7 separate regions of the Homo sapiens genome follow, and regions 1, 2, 4, 5, 6 and 7 are each linked to region 3. Evidence: promoter capture Hi-C in 16 types of primary human blood cells and fetal thymus (Javierre and others, 2016). All regions are on one chromosome and are shown on one strand. The core of a region is centred on a gene start or on the middle of the fragment in contact, and the rest is flanking DNA. Distances in the headings are between cores, read along the strand shown.

Region 1 (2,728 bases), core at 223-2,722, 720 kb before region 3:
GCCCAATATAATCACAGGGTCCTTAAAAGTGGAAGAGGGAGGTAGAAGAGGAGCTTATAAGGATGTGATATGAGAAGGACATGATCTGCAGTACCTGGCTTTGAAGATGGGAGAAGGGGACCATCAGCAAAGGAGTGCCCATGGTCTCTAGGAGCTGGTAAAGGCAAGAAAACACATTTTCCCCTGGAGCCTCCAGAAGGGAGCACAGTCCTGCCAACCTTAATTTTAGCCCAGTCAATCCTGTGTAGCGCTTCTAAATTATAGAACTATAAGATAATACATTTGTGTTGTTTCAAGGCACTGAATTTATATTAATTTGTTATAGCGGTAATAGAAAACTAACACAGAATATGTTGTGTACTATTTTGGATTTGACTTTTTTCTCTCCAGAGGTGGAAATATGTATATAATTTAAAATGCTTAGGTCTTTTTACAGACCTAAAGTTTGATATTAAAATTGGCTAGGCGTGGTGGCTCATGCCTGTAGTCCCAGTACTTTGGGAGGCTGAGATGGGTGGATCACCTGAGGTCAGGAGTTTGAGACCAGCTGGCCAACATGGCGAAACTCCATCTCTACTAAAAACACAAAAATTAGCTGGGTGTTGTGGGTGCCTGTAATCCCAGCTACTTGGGAGGCTGAGGCAGGAGAATCGCTTGAACCTGGGAGGCGGAGGTTGCAGTGAGCCGAGTTTGCGCCACTGCACTCGAGCCTGGGTGGCAGAGTGAGACTCCATCTCAAACAAAAAAATAATAAAATAGTTATACTTGGTTAATTTAAAATCTGTCGTAGTTAGTATGCATTTACCAATTAAATTACCTTTGAAATGTTTTAAAACTGTTATAAATTGGTCTACCAAATGCCGAAATAGAAGGAATCACATTTGTTTTGTGCAATTTATGAGAGCTGAGAAAAACTTGTACAGAAGGAACCATTGAAAAGAGAGATAGAACAAAGATGTTTTCTGGACATGATGTTCACTCACCACTATTAAGCAGATGGAAGAATTCACTGAATTGATACTTTTGACCACCTCTTATGCTCATGTGGTAGGGTGGGAGTGAGGAGAAGGTGGAGATGACTGAGACAAGAGTTCCCACCCTGAAGAAGCGAATCATTTTATAGGCAGAATGGCACAGAACGGATGTAACTACAGAGCACATGGAGTGAGAGGTTCCAGGCAAATGCTGTAGACCCAAGACAAGGGAAAATCACATCCAGGGTTGAGGAAAGCTTTAGGAACAATGGGGCAATTGAGACAGGCCCTGAAGGATACTGAGGGTAGGGAGTGATGAGCTAGTGTTTTTTAATAGTGATCTCCAAGATGTTAATATCTTAGGTGCTTTTTCTGGGGAGCTTCTGTTCTTCTGGGGAGCCTCCTCAGTCCCTTGCCTGATAATTGGCTGTTGGTGTATTCTGAGGGGGAGAGAAAAAAAGGGGCCAGCACTCATTCAGTGTATAGGCTCCTAATCTTGCATGTTTTCAGCCTCACCTTTTCCTCTTTTAGGCTAGCGATTGTGAGTTTAGAACCCTTCTGGTTAATTTCCTTTAGAGAACAAACATTCTCTGTCCTCTCAAGGTGAAGGAGAGGCCCTGTGGGGTCTGACTGCTTCTAACAGAGACTTCTGTTAGTCTCTGTTTTCAGCCTCCTTCTCACCTCCACTTTCCATGGTTCCTGGGTTGTCTTCTCCTTGATTACCCCCACTGCAGGTGTGTAAGCTTCCATTCTCTCCCTCTAAATCAGGTATTTTCTTGTGCTTTCAGTTCCCCCCAAATTTGTTTAATCCTTCCTATGCTATTGTCTCCTTGTTCTTATTCTCACAGCTGATTCTGTTCTTAATTCCTAACTGTCTTTTTGAGGGGGTTTTAGGAGAGGTTATGCCCACAATAAGCCCTTTACATCTGAACATAATGAAGATCCATAAGCAGAAGAAGCAGTGAGAGCTCTGATTCTTGTTTTTTAACCTTTCTTTTTAAAACAGCAAATAATAGGCTGGGCACAGTGGCTCCCGCTTGTCATCTCAGCACTTTGGGAGGCCGAGGTGGGTAGATCACTTGAGGCCAGGAGTTTGAAACTGGCCTAGCCAACATGGCAAAACTGTCTCTAATAAAAATACAAAAATTAGCTGGGCCTGGTGGCACGTGCCTGTAATCCCAGCTACTCGGGAGGCTGAGGCAGGAGAATCACTTGAACCTGGGAGGCGGAGGATACAGTGAGCCAAGATTACGCCACTGCACTCCAGCCTGGGTGACAGAGCAAGACTTGGTCTCAAAATGATAAGTAAAATAAAACAGTAAATATTTCTTAAAAACAGAAGTGCTTGACTGTTTGATATCCATAGAATCTGATATTAGAGTTAATTCTGTGTGATAGGTTTTCCTTCAGAACTGCAAATCATTTCTTTTTTTTCCTTTCAAATCATTTTTGTAGAGCAAAGACTAGCTCTTTTGCTCTTGACAATTCATGAACTTCCTTTAAGATATTTTATTCTATGGAATAATCTATAAATCAGACTTCTTTTCTAATTTTTTAAACTTCTGAAAATGCTTTAAAAACTATATGTATGTATTTTTTTAAATACAGAGTCTCGCTCTGTCGCCCAGGCTGGAGTGCACTGGAGCAATCTCTGCCCACTGCAGCCTCCGCCTCTTGGATTCAAGTGATTCTCCTGCCTCAGCCTCCCGAGTAGCTGGGATTACAGGCACACACCACCACGCCCAGCTAATTTT
Region 2 (2,738 bases), core at 162-2,661, 660 kb before region 3:
AAGAGATTCTCCCAAAGTAGCCTCCCACAGTGTTAGGATTACAGGTGTGAGCCACCATGCCCAGCCTGTTTCTTAACTTGTATATTTGACAGAAATTTTCTTGAACACCAGGAACTAAAACCAAGAAACAACAAACAAGAAAACTCCTGGTCTTGAAATTGTCTCTGTGTTGGGGCTCTCCTTTGATGCTTAGCCAAACTTGAACTAAGGTTTGAGATCAGCTCAAGGTTAAAGTTTAAGGTTTTCTCTGGTCTTTTATTTTGTAATAGTGTTTTCATTTTCATTCAACTTCTTTTCTTATTTCCCCTCTCAGATCTTTTCTGATCGTGTATCTCATCCTAGGCATACATGTGTCTTTCTGAATTCTCCCTATTCACGGGTGCTTTTGAATGCACTAATTTCCTAAAGACACTCTCTGTTTTTTTTTTCTCCCATATCTTAGGTGGTTTCAACAGTAATCTTTTGCCCAGACATCTGCAGGTTGTTCCTCTACCTTACCATGATTTAAAGAAATGCCTGCTACATTTCCAGCCTGGATAAGTTCTGAGTTAGGTGAAACAGAGATGTGTTCCTTGTGTCAGTCCTTCAGGCAGCCCACAGACAGGTTAGAGCAGACATATGCGGAAATTTGTGAATGAGGTCTGCTCTGCTTCCTCCAGAACCAGGGAGGAAATGGGACAAGTGTAATTAAAAAGGCACAGAGCTTTCATACCATTTTCTTTTATTTTTTTGAGACAGAGTCTCACTCTGTCACCTAGTCTGGAGTGCAGTGGCATGATCTTGGCTCACTGCAACCTCCTTCTCCCAGGTTCAAGCAATTCTCCTGCCTCAGCCTCTGAGGTAGATGGGATTACAGGTGTGCACCACGCTCGGCTAATTTTTGTATTTTTAGTAGAGACAGGGTTTTGCCATTTTGGCCAGGCTGGTCTTGAACTCCTGACCTCAGGTGATCCGCCCACCTTGGCCTCCCAAAATGATGGGATTACAGGTGTGAGCCACCACATCTGGCCATTTTTTTTTGTTCTTTTAGAGACAGAGTGTCACTATGTTGCCCAGGCAGGTCTCAAACTCCTGGGCTTAAGCAGTCCTCCACTTTGGCCTCCTGAGTAGCTGGGACTACATTGTCTTTTTATTGTTGATTTCTAGGGCCTGGCTTGTGACTTGCCTATTTATTTCCTTTCCTTTCCTTTTTTTTTTATTTGAGATGGAGTCTCACTCTGTTGCCTAGAGTGGTGGTGCAATCTTGGCTCACTGCAACCTCTGCCTCCTGGGTTCAAGTGATTCTCCTTCCTCAAGCCTTCTGAGTAGCTGGGAGTACAGGTGCCTGCAACCACGCCTGGCTAATTTTTGTATTTTTTAGTAGAGATGAGGTTTCACCATGTTGGCCAGGCTGGTCTTGAACTCCTGACCTCAAGTGGTCTGCCTGCCCGACCTCCCAAAGTGCTGGGATTACAGGTGTGAGCCACTGTGCCGGGCCATGTTTTTATTCATGAATGGATATTAAATTTTTTCAGGTATTTTCTCTACATCTATTGAGATGTTCATATAGTTTTTTTCCTTTATTTAATAATTTCATTAGTTTTCACATGCTGAAATCAACCTTGAATTCTTGGGATAAACCCCACTTGGACATGATGTATTACTGTTTTTTTGAGATGGAGTGTTGCTCTGTCACCCGGGCTGGAGTGCAGTGGCATGATTTCAGCTCACTGCAAGCTCCGCCTCCCGGGTTCACACCATTCTCCTGCCTCAGCCTCCCAAGTAGCTGGGACTACAGGTACCCGCCACCACACCCGGCTAATTTTTGTATTTTTAGTAGAGACAGGGTTTCACCTTGTCAGCCAGGATGGTCTCGATCTCTTGACCTCGTGATCTGCCCGCCTCGGCCTCCCAAAGTGCTGGGATTACGGTCATGAGCCACCGCGCCTGGCCTACTGTTTTTGTATATATTGCTGGACTTGATAATGTGCCTTACTTAAAAAGTAAAAATTTTTCATTTATGTTTTTGGTCTGTATTCTTTTCTGATGATGGTCCTTGTCTTGCTTTGGTATTGGGGTAATACTGGTCTCATAGAATTAAGTTGGAAACTCTTCTAGGAGGGGAGATTTACTAGTAATTGAGCTCCTACTCTGTGCTGCTTTATAGATTCCATTTCCTTTACTCCTTGGAACTATGCTAGGAGGCAGTATCGTCCCTACTTTGCAGGTAAGGAACCTTAGGTCAAAAGGCAAAGTAATTTCTCAAGGGCACGTTGCCATCATCAGTGGAGCCAGAATCTGATTGGAAGCTCTGAGGACTCTCTAAGACCAGCCCTTGAATGCTGCCTCCCACTGATGGCTCCCTGCGGCAAGGCCGGCTGTGTCTCAGCTGGCGGCAGCCCTTTGGTCTGTAGTGAGTCTGTAGTAGTCTAGTTCTGGGCCTCTTTGGCCAGTGACAGACAGGTGGATTCTTCATCTTCCCTGTTTCCTGGAGTTTGAGGGGTCCTTGTTACCATTCTGCAACAAAGAAGTGTTGGTGCCTCCACAGAAACCAGCTTTGGATGGCTGCTGAGGACAAATCCCCATTGTGGATAGAACTGGGAATTGCCTGGATACTCAGTATGGATAATCTCTCTCTTTCTAGGATGCTTGGATATTAATTCATCTGTGAAAGGGGCTCGTTTTGTCAGATTCTGTGATGCATTCAATATTCCACTCATCACTTTTGTTGATGTCCCTGGCTTTCTACCTGGTAAGTT
Region 3 (2,778 bases), core at 177-2,676:
TGTTCTGTGGATTTGACAGTGAACTCTCTGGGAAGATGAATGTGCATAACACATTTTGGTGGAGTTATTTTAAAAAGTGAATCAACTGTCCAATGGGTTTGACTCTGACTTGAGATGGATAAATCACTGGAGACTCAGATCCTTTAAGGGTGGAGGAGTCCTCACTTTTCCTGACTATAAGCTTATACCTAGAGCCAAAACGAACTATAATCCTAAAGGTCAGCTGGCCCTGGGGCTGAGCAGGCTCTAGTCTTCTCCAGGTGTTCAGGTGCTTGCAGCTATTGAATAGTGATAAGGACACAGAAATTGCTCCATATATTTCATTAACAATGAATACAGACTGAACACCTACATGTGTAGACATTCTTCTAGGCTCAGGGATACAGTTGACAAGGTTTCTGGATTTTGAGAGCTTACATCTAGAGGAGGATACAGATGATAAATATACTAGGCCAGCATTCTCTAGTATGGTAGCCACCAGCCACAGCTGGCTATTTAAATTTAAATTAAATTAAATTAAATTAAATTAAATTAAAATGTCTGTTTCCTGCCACACTAGTCACATTTTAGGTGTTCAATAGCCACATGTGGCCAGTGGTTACCATATTGAACAACATCGATTTAGAATATTTGCATCATCACAGAAAGTTTATTTTTGGAAAGCACTGCTCTAGGGAATTTTGGATAGTAATCAGTGCTAGGAGGAAGCTAAAAGGCTGATGCCATAGAGAGTTGACACTGAGGCTCCTTTATATTAGATGGCCTGGGATGGCCTCTCTGAGGAGGTGATATTTATGCCATATCTGAAGGACAAGAGGAGCCAGCCATGCGAACAGCAGGGGCAGAGCGTTTGAGATGGAGTGAACAGTTAGTCAAAGGTCCTAAGGCAAAAAGTGCTCAGCATTTTGGAGAAATGACCAATGTGGCAAGAATATCACGCTTCGGAGCAGAGTGAGAGAGAAGGCCAAAGCATCTTGTAAGACCACTGGCAAGAGTTTGGATCCCATTCTAAGTCCTGTAGGAAGCCATTAAGGAGAGAAACGTCACAATCTGCTGAGTGGTGAATGGTTTTGAGAATGGCAGGTGTCCAAGCTGGGAGATCACAGCAAGGCAAGGAATGACAGTGGCTGAGATTAGGGTGATGACCCTGGAGATGAAGAGATAAAAGAGATCCAGACACATTGATGTTTATGCCTAGCTTTCCCTATCTGGCAATAAAAGGAGTAAGGGACGATGGATGGTTGGTAGGGAGGAGAGTGGAGGAGCTAGGATAATGAGAAAGTACTTATTTTACTTACCTGTACAAAGTAGGTGAACGAAGTCAGTTACTTGCAACCATAACTGAGCCTGTGTCAGAGGGGCTGGTGTAACTCTGTGCCCTCCTCTCTTTGACAGGGAGTACGAGAGCCTGTACACGAGCCACATCTGGATCCCCAGCAGCTGGTGCTCACTCACTGAAGGTCCTGAGTGTGATGTCACTGATGACATCACGGCCACTGTGCCATACAACCTTCGTGTCAGGGCCACATTGGGCTCACAGACCTCAGCCTGGAGCATCCTGAAGCATCCCTTTAATAGAAACTCAAGTAAGGCACTTCTCTCCTTACACTCCCACCCCAACCAGCCCCTCCTTTAGGAACCATGTTCACCTAAACTTTCTAGACTCTTTTTAGCATCAGAATAGTCCTGCAAAGCCAGAGTATTGTGAACACAAACAACCCTTACTGGTATATTTGAAAAATTGCCAACTGCTTTCTACATGCTGCTCTCTGTCATGCCCTTTGACTACTCAAGTCATTCCTGACTGTCTGTGTCAGGGTGTGCAGGTGTTGGGGATGCTGACATTGGGAACCTGGAAGGAAAGCTGCTCTGGAAGTGAAGAGGTGGCACCAGGACTGCTGCTCCCTACTCTGATTGTGCCTCCATAAATTGTGCCTCCCACTTGAGGCCTCATTAACTGCATATTTACTGCCCACGTAAGCAGCTTTGTTGTGCAAGAGGATTTATACACTTAACAGAGCCACCAGAAAATTGCCCTTCTGTAATGACTTCTGTGGGAAATAAATAACTTTTCTTTTGGAGTAGTACCTGGAAAAGGATTGAGAAAGAAGTAATAGAGGAATCCAGATAGGTGGCCAAATGTGGCTGAGTACAAGCACTGGTCATTGTATAAAAGGACATGTGTGTTTGCGGAACAGGAGAGGCAAGGGCTGATGGGCAGGGGGTAGGGAAGCAGTTGATCATGTGGTGAAGGGCTTTGACACGAAGCTTGACCAAGTCAGTAGAGGGTAGCCAATGAAAGAGGAGAGGATCTAGACCAGGTCTATCTCTTTTTTTTTTTGATACGGAGTCTCACTCTGTCACCCAGGTTGGTGTGCAGTGGCGTGATCTCAGCTCACTGCAACCTCTGTCTCCTGGGTTCAAGTGATTCTCCTGCCTCAGCCTCCTGAGTAGCTGGGACTACAGGCGTGCACCACCATGCCTGGCTAATTTTTGTATTTTTAGTAGAGACAGGGTTTCACTATGTTTTCCAGGCTGGTCTGGAACTCCTGACCTCAAGTCATCTGCCCACTTCGGCCTCCCAAAGTGCTGGGATTACAGGCATGAGCCATGGCGCCCGGCCGACCAGGTCTATCTTACAAAGCAACACTCTGGCTGCTGTGTGGAAAGTGAACCAGAGTAGGGCAAGCCTGCAGGACAGGGGAAGAGTGAGGAGGGGGTTGTAATACTCCTACTGATCCCAAGAGTTTGGAAGGGGATGGGAAGGAGATGATGAAT
Region 4 (2,865 bases), core at 1-2,500, 640 kb before region 3:
AGCATCTTCCTCCATTAGACCCCGACTGGTAAGAAAAAGGTATTGTCAGAAAGCTCATCAGACTCCACCATTTGGAGTCCTGGCTGTTTCTCAGATTAAAGTTATTCTAACCAAGTGAAGTATACCTTCTAATCATGACCTACAGACTACACAAATTAGACTGAATTCCAAGACAATTAAGAATCATTCCTTTGGTTCATTCAAGATTTCATCTCACATATCAAAAGGAAGTACAATTCAATAATAACGGTTGTTAACATTTATTTATGTGTCAATTACCCTAAAAATCTTATTGGTAGTATTATCCCAATTTTACAAATGAGGAACCTGAAGCACAGATTTTTTTGAGACGGCGTCTTGCTCTGTCGCTCAGGCTGGAGTGCAGTGGCGTGATCTTGACTCACTACAACCTCCGCCTCCTGGATTTAAGCGATTCTCCTGCCTCACCCTCCTGAGTAGCTGGGATTATAGGCGCCCACCACCATGCCCGGCTAATTTTTTGTATTTTTAGTAGAGACGGGGTTTCACGATGTTGGCCAGGCTGGTCTTGAACTCCTGACCTCAAGTGATCCGCCCGCCTCGGCCTCCCAAAGTGCTGGGATTACAGGCGGAGCCACCGCGCCTAGCCAGCACAGATGTTTTAGAGCTTGTCCAAGGCCATGCAGCTGCCAAGTGGCAGAGCTAGGATTTAAATGCTGAAAGTGTTAAGAACTCACACCCTCCTTTCCTATGCTGCATAGCATATCACGAATTATAATTTTAACTCCTAAGACCAAACATCAAAGAAACCCAAGTCATTTCACAAAATGATGGGCATCACATAGTTGTTATGTTCTTGTGATACTCCATGTAACACTTACACAGCATGCCTCACTCCAGTTCTCACTTTCATGTAGTTCATTCCTGTTCTGTCCTTCCGATTTAAGTCTTCTAACTTCGGCTGGCCTAACCAAGAGATCTGCATCTGAGGACTAAGAGAGGGTACTATTATTAATTTTGTAGCAGCAGATGATGAATTTAGCTAATGAGCCCCAAGCTAAGAAAGCCAAGGTAGGTTTACTTAATCCCATGTTGGAGGAATTAGCTGGATTTATTCTGGTGCCTTTTTATAAAAAAGGCAATAAGTTGCCCAAAGATATCTGTAAGTCTCCAAGAGAAGCTGGCTGAGGCTAATTGTTAGATGCTTAAACTATCAACCAAATCTCTGCCAAACAAGGGTTCTCAGACCTCTGTTTTGGGCTGGTGCCGCACTCACAGGTGTACCTAGCTGGACAGCAGATCCCCAACTAACAGAAATTATGTTGGCTTGGCAGCTGAAAGTTCTCCAGAATTCAACAAGGAAGAATATAGCATCTTTTCCTCAGTCTTTATGGAGTCAAATCTGCACTTGTACTCTAAACTTATTGGCACATGGAAGTGTGTGTAAACATGCCTCTAAGGAATTTTTTTTTTTTTTTGAGATGGAGTCTTGCTCTGTCATCCAGGCTGGAGTGCAGTGGCACAATCTTGGCTCACTGCAACCTCCGCCTCCCTGGTTCAAGGGATTCTTCTGTCTCAGCCTCCCGAGTAGCTGGGACTACAGGCGTGCACCACCACACCCAGCTAATTTTTTGTATTTTTAGTAGACATGGGGTTTCACCATGTTAGTTAGGATGGTCTCGATCTCCTGACCTTGTGATCCACTTGCCTCGGCCTCCCAAAGTGCTGGGATTACAGGCATGAGCCACCGCGCCCAGCCAGGAATTTTTTTTTTTTAAGACAGGTTCTCACTCTTGTCACCCAGGCTGGAGTGCAGTGGCATGATCTCAGCTCACTACAACCTCTGCCTCCCAGGCTCCAGTGCTGCTCTCACCTCAGCCTTCCGAGTAGCTGGGATCACAGGCATGCGCCACCACACCTGGCTAATTTTGTGGTGGTGGTGTTGAGACAGAGTCTGTGTCACCCAGGCTGGAGTGCAGTGGCGCGATTTTGGCTCACTGCAACCTCTGCCTCCCGAGTTCAAGCAATTCTCATTCCTTAGCCTCCTGAATAGTTGGGATCACAGGCGTGTGCCACCATACCCATACATTTATAGGATGTAAACTTTAGTGGTTTTTTAGCCAATACAAACTGTCACATGAAGTTGTCTCTAAGTAGCTGTCTTTATATCATGTGGGGCCACCACCTTGATTAAACCTATAAACCTGGAGCAGGGAAAAGAAGGCAGACCATGGCCACAGGGAATGACAAATGGTAGGGTCAGAGGGGCAAGGCAGGCTGCTAAAACAAGGAGAAACCCACCCTGTAGGAAGAGGGGTGGGGATATTGGTTAGGTCACCCATCTTCGGATGCTTGCCATAAGGCAAACCACCTTCTAGGATACTTGGCAGCACAAGAATGCCCAGTTATACCATGGGTGACAGTGAGTATCCTCTTGGGTTTGAAGGCTGATCCCTTAGAGCAAAGGGATCATGAAAACCCAGGATTTGATACTTCTAACACTGTCTCTATTTTCAACCTAACTAAATTTGTTGAGTTCAAATGAGAGTTCTCCCTCTTATCCATCAGAGTAATTCACAGCATTACCCAACTATACACAGAAACACAAGTGAGGAGCTCAAAGAATTTCAAAGTTGGATGGAAAACAACAATAAGATTTTTATAAGCAAAACACGCCATCACCCTCTGCCTTCTCTACAATTTTCAGAGGTCTGTGTACTAGAAAACATTTTAATTACTAGCATGGAGGAAAGGTAAGACCTTGATTTTCTCTTTGAGGGCAACTATTCTCAGAATTTATCAAGTAAGATCTTAAAAATTCTTAATCCATGAGAAGTTTGAGTTTAAAATGTAACAAGACAAAATATTAATTAAATGGATGATAAA
Region 5 (2,967 bases), core at 231-2,730, 780 kb before region 3:
TTGGCCGGGCGTGATGGCTCACGCCTGTAATCCCATCACTTTGGGAGGCTGAGGTGGGCAGATCACAAGGTCAGGAGATCCAGACCATCCTGGCTAACAAGGTGAAACCCTTTCTCTACTAAAAAATACAAAAAAAAAAAAAAATAGCCAGGCGTGGTAGCACGTGCCTTCAGCTACTCGGGAGGCTGAAGCAGGAGAATCGCTTGAACCCCAGAGGCGGAGGTTTCAGTGAGCCGAGATCGCACCGCTGCACTCCAGCCTGGTGACAGAGCAAGAATCTGTCTCAAAAAAAAAAAAGAAAGAAAAGAAAAAAGAAAAAAATGCTCAACATCACTAATCATCAGAGAAATCCAAATCCAAACCACAGTGATATACCATCTCACCACACAGTCAGAATGGCAGTTATTAAGTCAAAAAATAACAGATGTTGGGGATGTTCCAGAGACAAGGGAATGTTTATACACTGCTGGTAGCACTGTAAATTAGTTCAGCCACTGTGGAAAGCAGTTTGGAGAATTCTCAAAGAACTTAGAACTACCATTTGACCCAGCAATCTCATTACTGGGTATATACCCAAAGGAATATAAATCGTTCTACCAAAAAGACATGCACTCATTTGCTCATCACAGCACTATTTACATAGCAAAGAAATGGAATCAAACTAAATGCCCACTGACAATGGGCTGAATAAAGAAAATGTGGTACATATACACCATGGAATACTATACAGCCATAAAAAAATTATGTCCTGGCCGGGCACTGTGGCTCACACCTGTAATCCCAGCACTTTGGGAGGCTGAGGTGGGCGGATCACCTGAGGTTGGGAGTTCGAGACCAGCCTGACCAACATGGAGAAACCCCGTCTCTACTAAAAATACAAAATTGGCCGGGCGCCGTGTCTCACACTTATAATCCCAGCACTTTGGGAGGCCGAGGTGGGCGGATTACCTGAGATCGGGAGTTTGACCAGCCTGACCAACATGGAGAAACCCCGTCTCTACTAAAAATACAAAATTAGCCGGGCATGGTGGTGCATGCCTGTAATCCCAGCTACTCGGGAGGCTGAGGCAGGAGAATCGCTTGAACTTGGGAGGCAGAGGTTGCGGTGAGCCGAGATCATGCCATTGCACTCCAGCCTGGGCAACAAGAGCTAAACTCCATCTCAAAAATAATAATAATAATAATAAATAAATAAATAAATAATAAAAATAAATAAAAATACAAAATTAGCTGGACGCAGTGGTGCATGCCTGTAATCCCAGCTACTCGGGAGGCTGAGGGAGGACAATTGCTTGAACATGAGAGGTGGAGGTTGCAGTGAGCCAAGATCACACCATTGCACTCCAGCCTGGGCAACAAGAGGGAAACTCTGTCTCAAAAAAAAAAAATGTCCTTTGCAGCAACATGGATGCAACTGGAGGCCATTATCTGAATTAACACAGGAACAGAAAACCAAATGCTGCATGTTCTCATTTATAAGTGGGAGCTAAACATTGAGTACACATGGACATAAAGATGGGAACAGTAGACACTAGAGCCTACTTTCTGGGGAAGGATGACAGGAGGGTGAAAGTCCAAACCTACCAGGGTTGGGCACGGTGGCTCACACCTGTAATCCCAGAAATTTGGGAGGCAGAGGCAGGGGAATCCCAGCACTTTGGGAGGCAGAGGCGGGGGAATCATTCGAGGTCAGGAGTTCAAAACCAGCCTGGCCAACATGGCGAAACCCCATCTCTAATAGTAATACAAAAAATTAGCAAGGCATGATGGCGCATGCCTGCAGTCCCAGCTACTGGGGAGGCTGAGGCAGGAGAATCACTTGAACCCAAGAGGCAGAGGTTGCAGTGAGCCGAGATTGCAACACTGCACTCCAACCTGGCCAACATAGTGAAACTCCGTCTCTACTAAAAATACAAAAATTAGCCAGGTGTGGCCAGGCGCAGTGGCTCACGCCTGTAATCCCAGCACTTTGGGGGGACGAGGCAGGTGGATCACAAGGTCAGGAGATCAAGACCACGGTGAAACCCCATCTCTACTAAAAATACAAAAAATTAGCCCAGCACGGTGGCGGGTGCCTGTAGTCCCAGCTACTCGGGAGACTGAGGCAGGAGAATGGCGTGAACCCAGGAGGCAGAGCTTGCAGTAAGCAGAGATTGCCCCACTGCACTCCAGCCTGGGCGACAGAGTGAGACTCCGTCTCAAAAAAAAGAAAAAAAAAATTAGCCAGGTGTGATGACACATTCCTGTGATCCCAGCTACTCCAGCCTAGGCTACACAGCCAGACTCCCTCTCAAAAAATAAATAAATAAAAAGTTGAAAACAATGGTAAAGGTGGTAAATTATATATGTATATTTTTCCTAAATAAAAAACCTCTGAAATAAATGCAGTTTGATTCTTTTTAAAAAAAAAACATTAAAAGTGCTTTAATTATTTAGGAAAAATCATATATAACTCAAATTCCTTTTTTTTTTTTTTGAGATAGTCTCACCTAGGCTGGAGTGCAGTGCTTACTGTGTCCTCAGCCTCCTGGGCTCAAGCAATCCTCCCACTTCAGCCTCCTGAGTAGCCGGAACTACAGGCACATACCACCATGCCCGGCTAATTTTTTTTTTTTTTTTGTATTTTTTGTAGAGACGGGAGTCTAACCATGTGGCCTAAGCTAAAGGGATCTGACTCCAGCCTCAGCCCCCCACAGTGCTGGGATTACAGGCATGAGCCACAGTGCCTGGCCTATAACTCAAATTTCTTTTTATTTTTATTCTTTTATGTTTAGTTCTGGGGTACATGTGCAGGATCTGCAGGTTTGTTACGTAGGTAAACGTGTGCCATGGTGGTTTGCTGCACCTATCAACCCATCACCTAGGTCTTAAGCCCAGCATACATTAGCTATTTTTTCCTAATACTCTCCCTTTCCCCACCCCCCCATCCCCGACAGGCTCCATCCAGTGTGTGTTGTTCCCCTCCCT
Region 6 (2,909 bases), core at 199-2,698, 810 kb before region 3:
GAACTCCATACTCCATTCTCACCCACCACTGACCATTCCAAAACATGCAATGCTTACTCATCCTCCATGATTTGCTGTTCCTAGAATGTCCTTCTTCCTGCCTTGCATGGTCAATTCTTCTTCAAAAATCAATTCAAATATGACCTCCAAGAGGAAGCCTTTCTTAATTAACCTCCCTCAATCTGTTGAAAAAGCACTTTACACATTCTCCTATTACAGCACTTAATCACATTATATTGTCATTGTTCACTGGGTCTCACTCAAGGCCAGAAACTTATTTATCTCTAAATCTTTAAACTAGTGTTGGCACATAAGCCAGCACCTAATAAATGTAAAATGAATTAATCATAAAAAGAACATTAAATCTGGGAGTGACCTTGGTAATCACTTGTTCTGTGACCTCATTTTAACCAAGATGGACTTTCATGGATTACATAACTGGGTACTAGCAATGAAAAATAGAGGCTCAGTCTACTGATTCCCAGCCTAGAATTATTTTCACTTATCCAGCACTATCTGTACTTCTATTAAAACAGTCCATGGCATACACAGAGACAATTTTAGCTTCTTGCCCCTTCCCAAAAATGATTACAGAAACTGAGCAATAGGCAGAATAATTAGCCACAAGATATACAACCTTTTATTGGAAAGAAGAAATAGGAACAGGTACTGGCAATAATGGATAGTGACTGAGGCAGGAAGAGCAAAAGGAAGGGGAGGATGGATTCTCAATAACAGGTTTGTGAGGGTCAGGAAATCCTTACTGCACAAAAACTGGACCAGCAAGAGCCCTGCCTAAATTCTCTACACACTAACTTCAATTTTTAAAGTTAGCCTTAAATGCTTCAAGTGGACATATATGCTATAAAGCATTTGTACCATCTTCTGTGTAAAAGAGATTCCAACAAAAAACAAAGATCGGCCTATATACCAGTCTAAAATTTACAGCATCAGAAACCTTAATATGTATATGTATATTAAATGTGTATGCATAATGTATTCATGTGTAATATATATGTTTAAAATAAGTAAATACATATATACTAAACTCATGATTAGACTAAGCTGGTTTTCATTCATTTATAAAATTTTCTGGGAATGTAATAGCAATAAACCGATGCTGATCAACCCAAATAAACACGTACACTCTATTTCTCTTGTGGTATGAGAGTAACTATGCTGAATTTGAGTCATGGCTGGGCATGGTGGCTCACGCCTATAATCCCAGCACTTTGGGAGGCCGAGGCAGGTGGATCACGAGGTCAGGAGTTCGATACCAGCCTGACCAACATGGTGAAACCCCATCTCTACTAAAAATACAAAAAGTAGCCAGACGTGGTGGCGCACACCTGTAATCTCAGCTATTCAGGAGGCTGAGGCAGGAGAATCACTTCAACCCAGGAGGCGGAGGTTGCAGTGAGCCGAGATCGCGCCACTGCACTCCAGCCTGGGCGACAGAGCAAGACTCCGTCTCAAAAAAAAAAAAAAAAGTGGGAGAATACACTTCTCTCACTGATGTCAAAAGTCTGAGATAGGCCAGGTGCAGTGGCTCACACTTACAATACCAGCATTTTGGGAGGCTGGGGCAGGAGGATCACTCAAGCCCAGGAGTTCGAGACCAGCCTAAGCAGCATAGTGAAACCCTGCCTCTACGAAAAATAAACAAAATTAGCCAGACATGGTGGCACATGCCTGTGGTCCCAGCTACTAAGGAGGCTGAAGTGGGAGGATCATTAGAGTCCAGGAGTTCGAGGCTGCAAGTGAGCCATGATCGGATCACTGCACCCTAGCCTGCGTGACAGAGGCCCCATCTCAAAAAACAACAACAACAACAAGTCTGAGATAGGGCCGGAACAATAACCGTTTCATAATCAATTTATCTAAATTTCCCCATTTTTCACCTTTTCCAAATGAAGAGTGAATTGTTTAGCCTATGTTCATTGAATAAAACATTTCTCCTTCCTCCATTACATATGTAAATAATTCCTGGGACCCAGCTATATGCCAAACACTGTGCTAAGCCTGCCACTGTGCTAAGCCTGCCATCACTTAGCAAGGCATTCTCAAACCTTTTTTAAATCTCTGAATTATAGCACCAAAATTAAACTCCAAAATTAAAGATGTCGAGTATGTTTCCAAACAATAACTAGTAGGACATATTCTAGATACATATACAAGGAAATAATCTCTGGATTCAGCCAAACAAAAACGACTATACCATAAAAAGTTAGTATTTATCATTTCCAAATTGGTGCAAATTAATCAACAGTTCTTGGACAAGTAAAACTATATTCTTTGCCCAATATAGTTGTGTGCAGGCATATTTTAAAGTCTAAACTTCTTTTAAAACTTTTCAGTGGCCGGCTGGGTGTGGTGGCTCATGCCTGTAATCCCAGCACTATGGGAAGCCACGGCAGGTGGATTGCTTGAGTCCAGGAGTTCAAGACCAGCCTGGGCAACACAGCAAAACCCCGTCTCTACTAAAAATACAAAAAATTAGCAGGACATGGGGGCATGCACCTGCAATCCCAGCTACTCGGGAGGGTGAGGTGGAACAATCACCTAAGCCCAGGAGGTTGAAGCTGTATTGAGCCAAGATCGTGTCACTGCACTCCAGCCTGGGCAACCAGAATGAGACCCTCTCTCAAAAAAAAAAAAAAAAAAAAAAACTTTTCGGCTGGGCACAGTGGTTCATGCCTATCATCTCAGCATTGGGAGGCTGAGGCAGGAGAATCACTTGAGCCCATGAATCTAAGACCAGCCTGGGCAACTGAGTGAGACCCTGTTACTACAAAAAAAAAAAAATTTAAAAATTAACCAGGTGTGGTGGCACACACCCTTCTCTCTCTTGCTCCTTCTTTCGCCATGTGATAGGCCTGCTCCCCTTTAGCCTTCTGCCATGATTGGAA
Region 7 (2,943 bases), core at 61-2,560, 740 kb before region 3:
AGTGGCTGGCCAGCCAGGGAGTACATTGTCATCCTTGCCCTTGCGTCCAGGTGGAGGTGGGGTCTTTAATAAACAGGGCTTCCCTTCCACTTGTCTTCTTCCCCATTCTCCAGTTGAATACAGACAAATCTAGGGATGATGAACCCACAAGACAGAAGAAGCCTGGGTCCTTAAATCACCGCAAGGGGGAAAGCTGCCCACCGTGTGGAAGAATAGCTACACTAGAATGTCAGGGTAAACAACAAGCTTCTATTATGTTAAGTAACTTAAACCTTGGGGTTTGTTACAGTTGCTAGCATTATTTTAAGCAATATAGAGATCATTTGTCCTTTTCTAAGATCTTTCTCATGCTGGGGTGTGAGCATGTTACTCAGTCTCTGCCAATTTGATGTTCCCACTCAATATTATAAGTGGGGGAGCCCACTATGCAAAGATACGCAATAGTATGAAAACTATTCACAGTGGCCTTGCAAATCCAGAAGCAGTCACAGCAAGGTCTGTCAATAGTGGTATCTAGGTCAATGTCCACTGTTCTTGTGGCATGAGCTTAGCTGTGTTTTTCTGCTTCTAGATTATCTTGCTTTTTGACTCTTTTCTATCCCCCTTGATAATTCCTTCCTTCCAATAATTCATTTTCTTCTTTAGGTATCCAGGATCAGTTCTCATGTACATTGTCTTTCCCATCTATTCTGGATTCTCTTTCCAAACTAGAGTGGGATTATCACTTTTTTTTTTTTTTTTTTGAGACGGAGTCTTGTTCTGTTGCCAGGCTGGAGTGCAGTGGCACCATCTCAGCCCACTGCAACCTCCGCCTCCCGGGTTCAAGCAATTCTCCTGCCTCAGCCTCCCGAGTAGCTGGGACTACAGGCATATGCCACCACTCCCAGCTAGTTTTTTATTTTTATTTTTATTTTTATTTTAGTAGAGATAGGGTTTCACCATATTGCCCAGGCTGGTCTCGAACTCCTGAGCTCAGGCAATCCACCCGCCTTGGCCTCCCAAAGTGCTAGGATTACAGGCGTGAGCCACTGCGCCCTGCCGGGATTTTTACTTATTAAACATCTATTGCATACCGTGTACTCTACATATGTTTTCTCACTTAATTTAATCCCTCCAACTATTCTATAGGGTCAATATTATTATCATGATTTTATAAGTGAAAAAACTGTAGCTGAAAGAGATGAACTGATTTGCCTAGTTACACTGCTTGTTAGTATCATTTGGAATCCAGTTTTACAGCACCAAAGCATGCTTTCCATCCTACCAGAAACCCTTCACTAGCTCATAATGAGGGCAATCCTCTCCAGCGCCCTTTCTAGCCTATAAATTGTTCTGGAAGTGAGGAATGCATCAATATTTACTTAATCCTTTCTTACATACAAAAGGGGTTATAAGGAAAGTTCTGTTGTTGCAGCTGTTTTCTAAGCCTTCAAACAATATTGTTTTTCTTTTCACTTTTTCTTTTCCTTCCCTCCCCTGCTTCTGTCTGTCTTTCCAAAACAACAAACTAAGGGTAACTGCAGAAGGTACAGTGGTGGCACCGCTTCATTTAGTTCTCTTGCTGACTTTCCTTAGACTGCACTGCAGTCTAAGAATGCTTCTTCCCAACCTTCCCTCTTTCTCTCATTCACTCAGGATCACACTTACATCAATCATAGGGTTGAAATTTTGAGCGAGTTGGATGGGAAGAACCATATCCTAATAAAAAGTAATGATCTTTATTACTTTTTTTTTTTTTTTTGAGACGGAGTCTTGCTCTGTCTCCCAGGTTGGAGTGCAGTGGCGTAATCTTGGCTCACTGCAATCTCTACCTCCCAGCTCAAGCCATTCTGCCTCAGCCTTCTGAGTAGCTGGGATTACAGGCGCGTACCACCATGCCCAGTTAATTTTTGTACTTTTAGTAGAGACGGAGTTTCACCGTGTTGGCTAGGCTGGTCTTGAACACCTGATCTCAAATGATCCGTCTGCCTCCGAAAGTGCTGGAATAACAGGCATGAGCCACCGCACCCAGCCTTGAAAATACATATGTCAGGTAGGAAGATAAAACCTATTTTATTTAAAAGTTTGTGTATTAAAAGACATGGTCAAAAGAATGCAAAGGGCTGGGTGTGGTGGCAATCTTTATTACTTTTGATGTTCCCCAGTGAGTATATCTTAAATGTCAACACCACCCGTAGGAAACTAGATAGGTTTCCCATGGTTCATGGGAAAGAAGCTGGCTCTAGTAATGGAGCTGAGCGTCAGATAATCCCCTCTTCACAGAGAAACTAGAGTAGCAAGAGAGAAAGTTCTTTCAATGACTGAATACCCCATGTATCTGGAACCACTGGGTACTGGAAACACAGAAATAAAAATGATAGAGTCCTTATCCAAAATAAGCTTATAATCTCATGGGGAGTCATATATGAATAGCTAATTTGTTTCCAGTTTCTAGATGTTAACCTCAATTGCTTTAGAACAGCATAATTCATACCAAAAGCTCAAAATCACCCATTATAATAAAAATAATTGTGAAAGTATCATAACTCATATAGTCTTTTAGAAATGCAGGAGGAATTATAAAAGAAAAAGAAGAAGAGAGGCCACTAATTAAAACAAACATTTCTTAATCTAGTGCCATGACTCTTGCCTTAGAATTTTCTAAGCAGCTGGAAGAGGGATAGGAAAAGCGAGGATGGAGAATAAAGGAAAAAGAAAGAGTATTTCTTGTATCCTGGCTGCACTTTGACTTACCTGTAACCCAGTATCAGTATCCAGAAGGGAGAGAATCACTAAGGCTGTTTTGGTTGAAATAGGAAAGGGCATCCTCACGGTGTTAGAGTCAGTATATTCAGAAGACAAGACTGGAGCTGTTCTTGTGAGTTCAGGGGCTCTTTGAATTTATATCCCTTTTCGTATCTTCCACCGTTCCAGCCAGGTGAACCTAGCATACCACAATTCTCA

The links. The method cuts DNA at HindIII sites, captures the fragments that hold promoters and counts their contacts. A CHiCAGO score of 5 or more calls a contact.
Region 1: a contact is called between a fragment that was not itself captured here and the fragment with the promoter of IL20RB-AS1 in region 3, in 1 of 17 cell types (monocytes). The highest score is 5.1, in monocytes.
Region 2: a contact is called between a fragment that was not itself captured here and the fragment with the promoter of IL20RB-AS1 in region 3, in 4 of 17 cell types (neutrophils, naive CD8 T cells, activated CD4 T cells and 1 more). The highest score is 7.8, in neutrophils.
Region 4: a fragment that was not itself captured here is called in contact with the fragment with the promoter of IL20RB-AS1 in region 3 in 11 of 17 cell types (naive CD8 T cells, naive B cells, non-activated CD4 T cells and 8 more); the score reaches 9.3 in naive CD8 T cells.
Region 5: a contact is called between a fragment that was not itself captured here and the fragment with the promoter of IL20RB-AS1 in region 3, in 1 of 17 cell types (fetal thymus). The highest score is 8.2, in fetal thymus.
Region 6: a fragment that was not itself captured here is called in contact with the fragment with the promoter of IL20RB-AS1 in region 3 in 1 of 17 cell types (fetal thymus); the score reaches 5.4 in fetal thymus.
Region 7: a fragment that was not itself captured here is called in contact with the fragment with the promoter of IL20RB-AS1 in region 3 in 5 of 17 cell types (non-activated CD4 T cells, fetal thymus, naive B cells and 2 more); the score reaches 7.8 in non-activated CD4 T cells.

Annotation. Positions count from the first base shown.
Region 1 is chr3:136,257,196-136,259,923 of GRCh38, forward strand. The region is part of intron 3 of PCCB (propionyl-CoA carboxylase subunit beta); the gene reads left to right. Among named protein-coding and RNA genes, the nearest start is that of PCCB, 8.2 kb to the left of the region's middle. The HindIII fragment of the contact is 486 bases long and covers 1,230-1,715 here.
Region 2 is chr3:136,324,180-136,326,917 of GRCh38, forward strand. It overlaps PCCB (propionyl-CoA carboxylase subunit beta), which reads left to right. Exons shown (of 15, transcript NM_000532.5): 11 at 2,624-2,731. Among named protein-coding and RNA genes, the nearest start is that of PCCB, 75 kb to the left of the region's middle. The HindIII fragment of the contact is 3,211 bases long and covers 1-2,738 here.
Region 3 is chr3:136,980,765-136,983,542 of GRCh38, forward strand. It overlaps IL20RB-AS1 (IL20RB antisense RNA 1), which reads right to left and starts at 1,427. Exons shown (of 4, transcript NR_183729.1): 1 at 1,299-1,427. IL20RB (interleukin 20 receptor subunit beta) reads left to right here. Exons shown (of 7, transcript NM_144717.4): 3 at 1,396-1,586. The HindIII fragment of the contact is 2,087 bases long and covers 180-2,266 here.
Region 4 is chr3:136,340,581-136,343,445 of GRCh38, forward strand. It overlaps STAG1 (STAG1 cohesin complex component), which reads right to left. Exons shown (of 34, transcript NM_005862.3): 31 at 861-971; 32 at 1-25. Among named protein-coding and RNA genes, the nearest start is that of PCCB, 92 kb to the left of the region's middle. The HindIII fragment of the contact is 9,398 bases long and covers 1-2,865 here.
Region 5 is chr3:136,199,017-136,201,983 of GRCh38, forward strand. No RefSeq gene overlaps it. Among named protein-coding and RNA genes, the nearest start is that of MSL2, 4.2 kb to the left of the region's middle. The HindIII fragment of the contact is 6,162 bases long and covers 1-2,967 here.
Region 6 is chr3:136,173,870-136,176,778 of GRCh38, forward strand. All of the region lies in intron 1 of MSL2 (MSL complex subunit 2), which reads right to left. Among named protein-coding and RNA genes, the nearest start is that of MSL2, 21 kb to the right of the region's middle. The HindIII fragment of the contact is 2,920 bases long and covers 1-2,908 here.
Region 7 is chr3:136,237,954-136,240,896 of GRCh38, forward strand. No RefSeq gene overlaps it. Among named protein-coding and RNA genes, the nearest start is that of PCCB, 11 kb to the right of the region's middle. The HindIII fragment of the contact is 2,133 bases long and covers 245-2,377 here.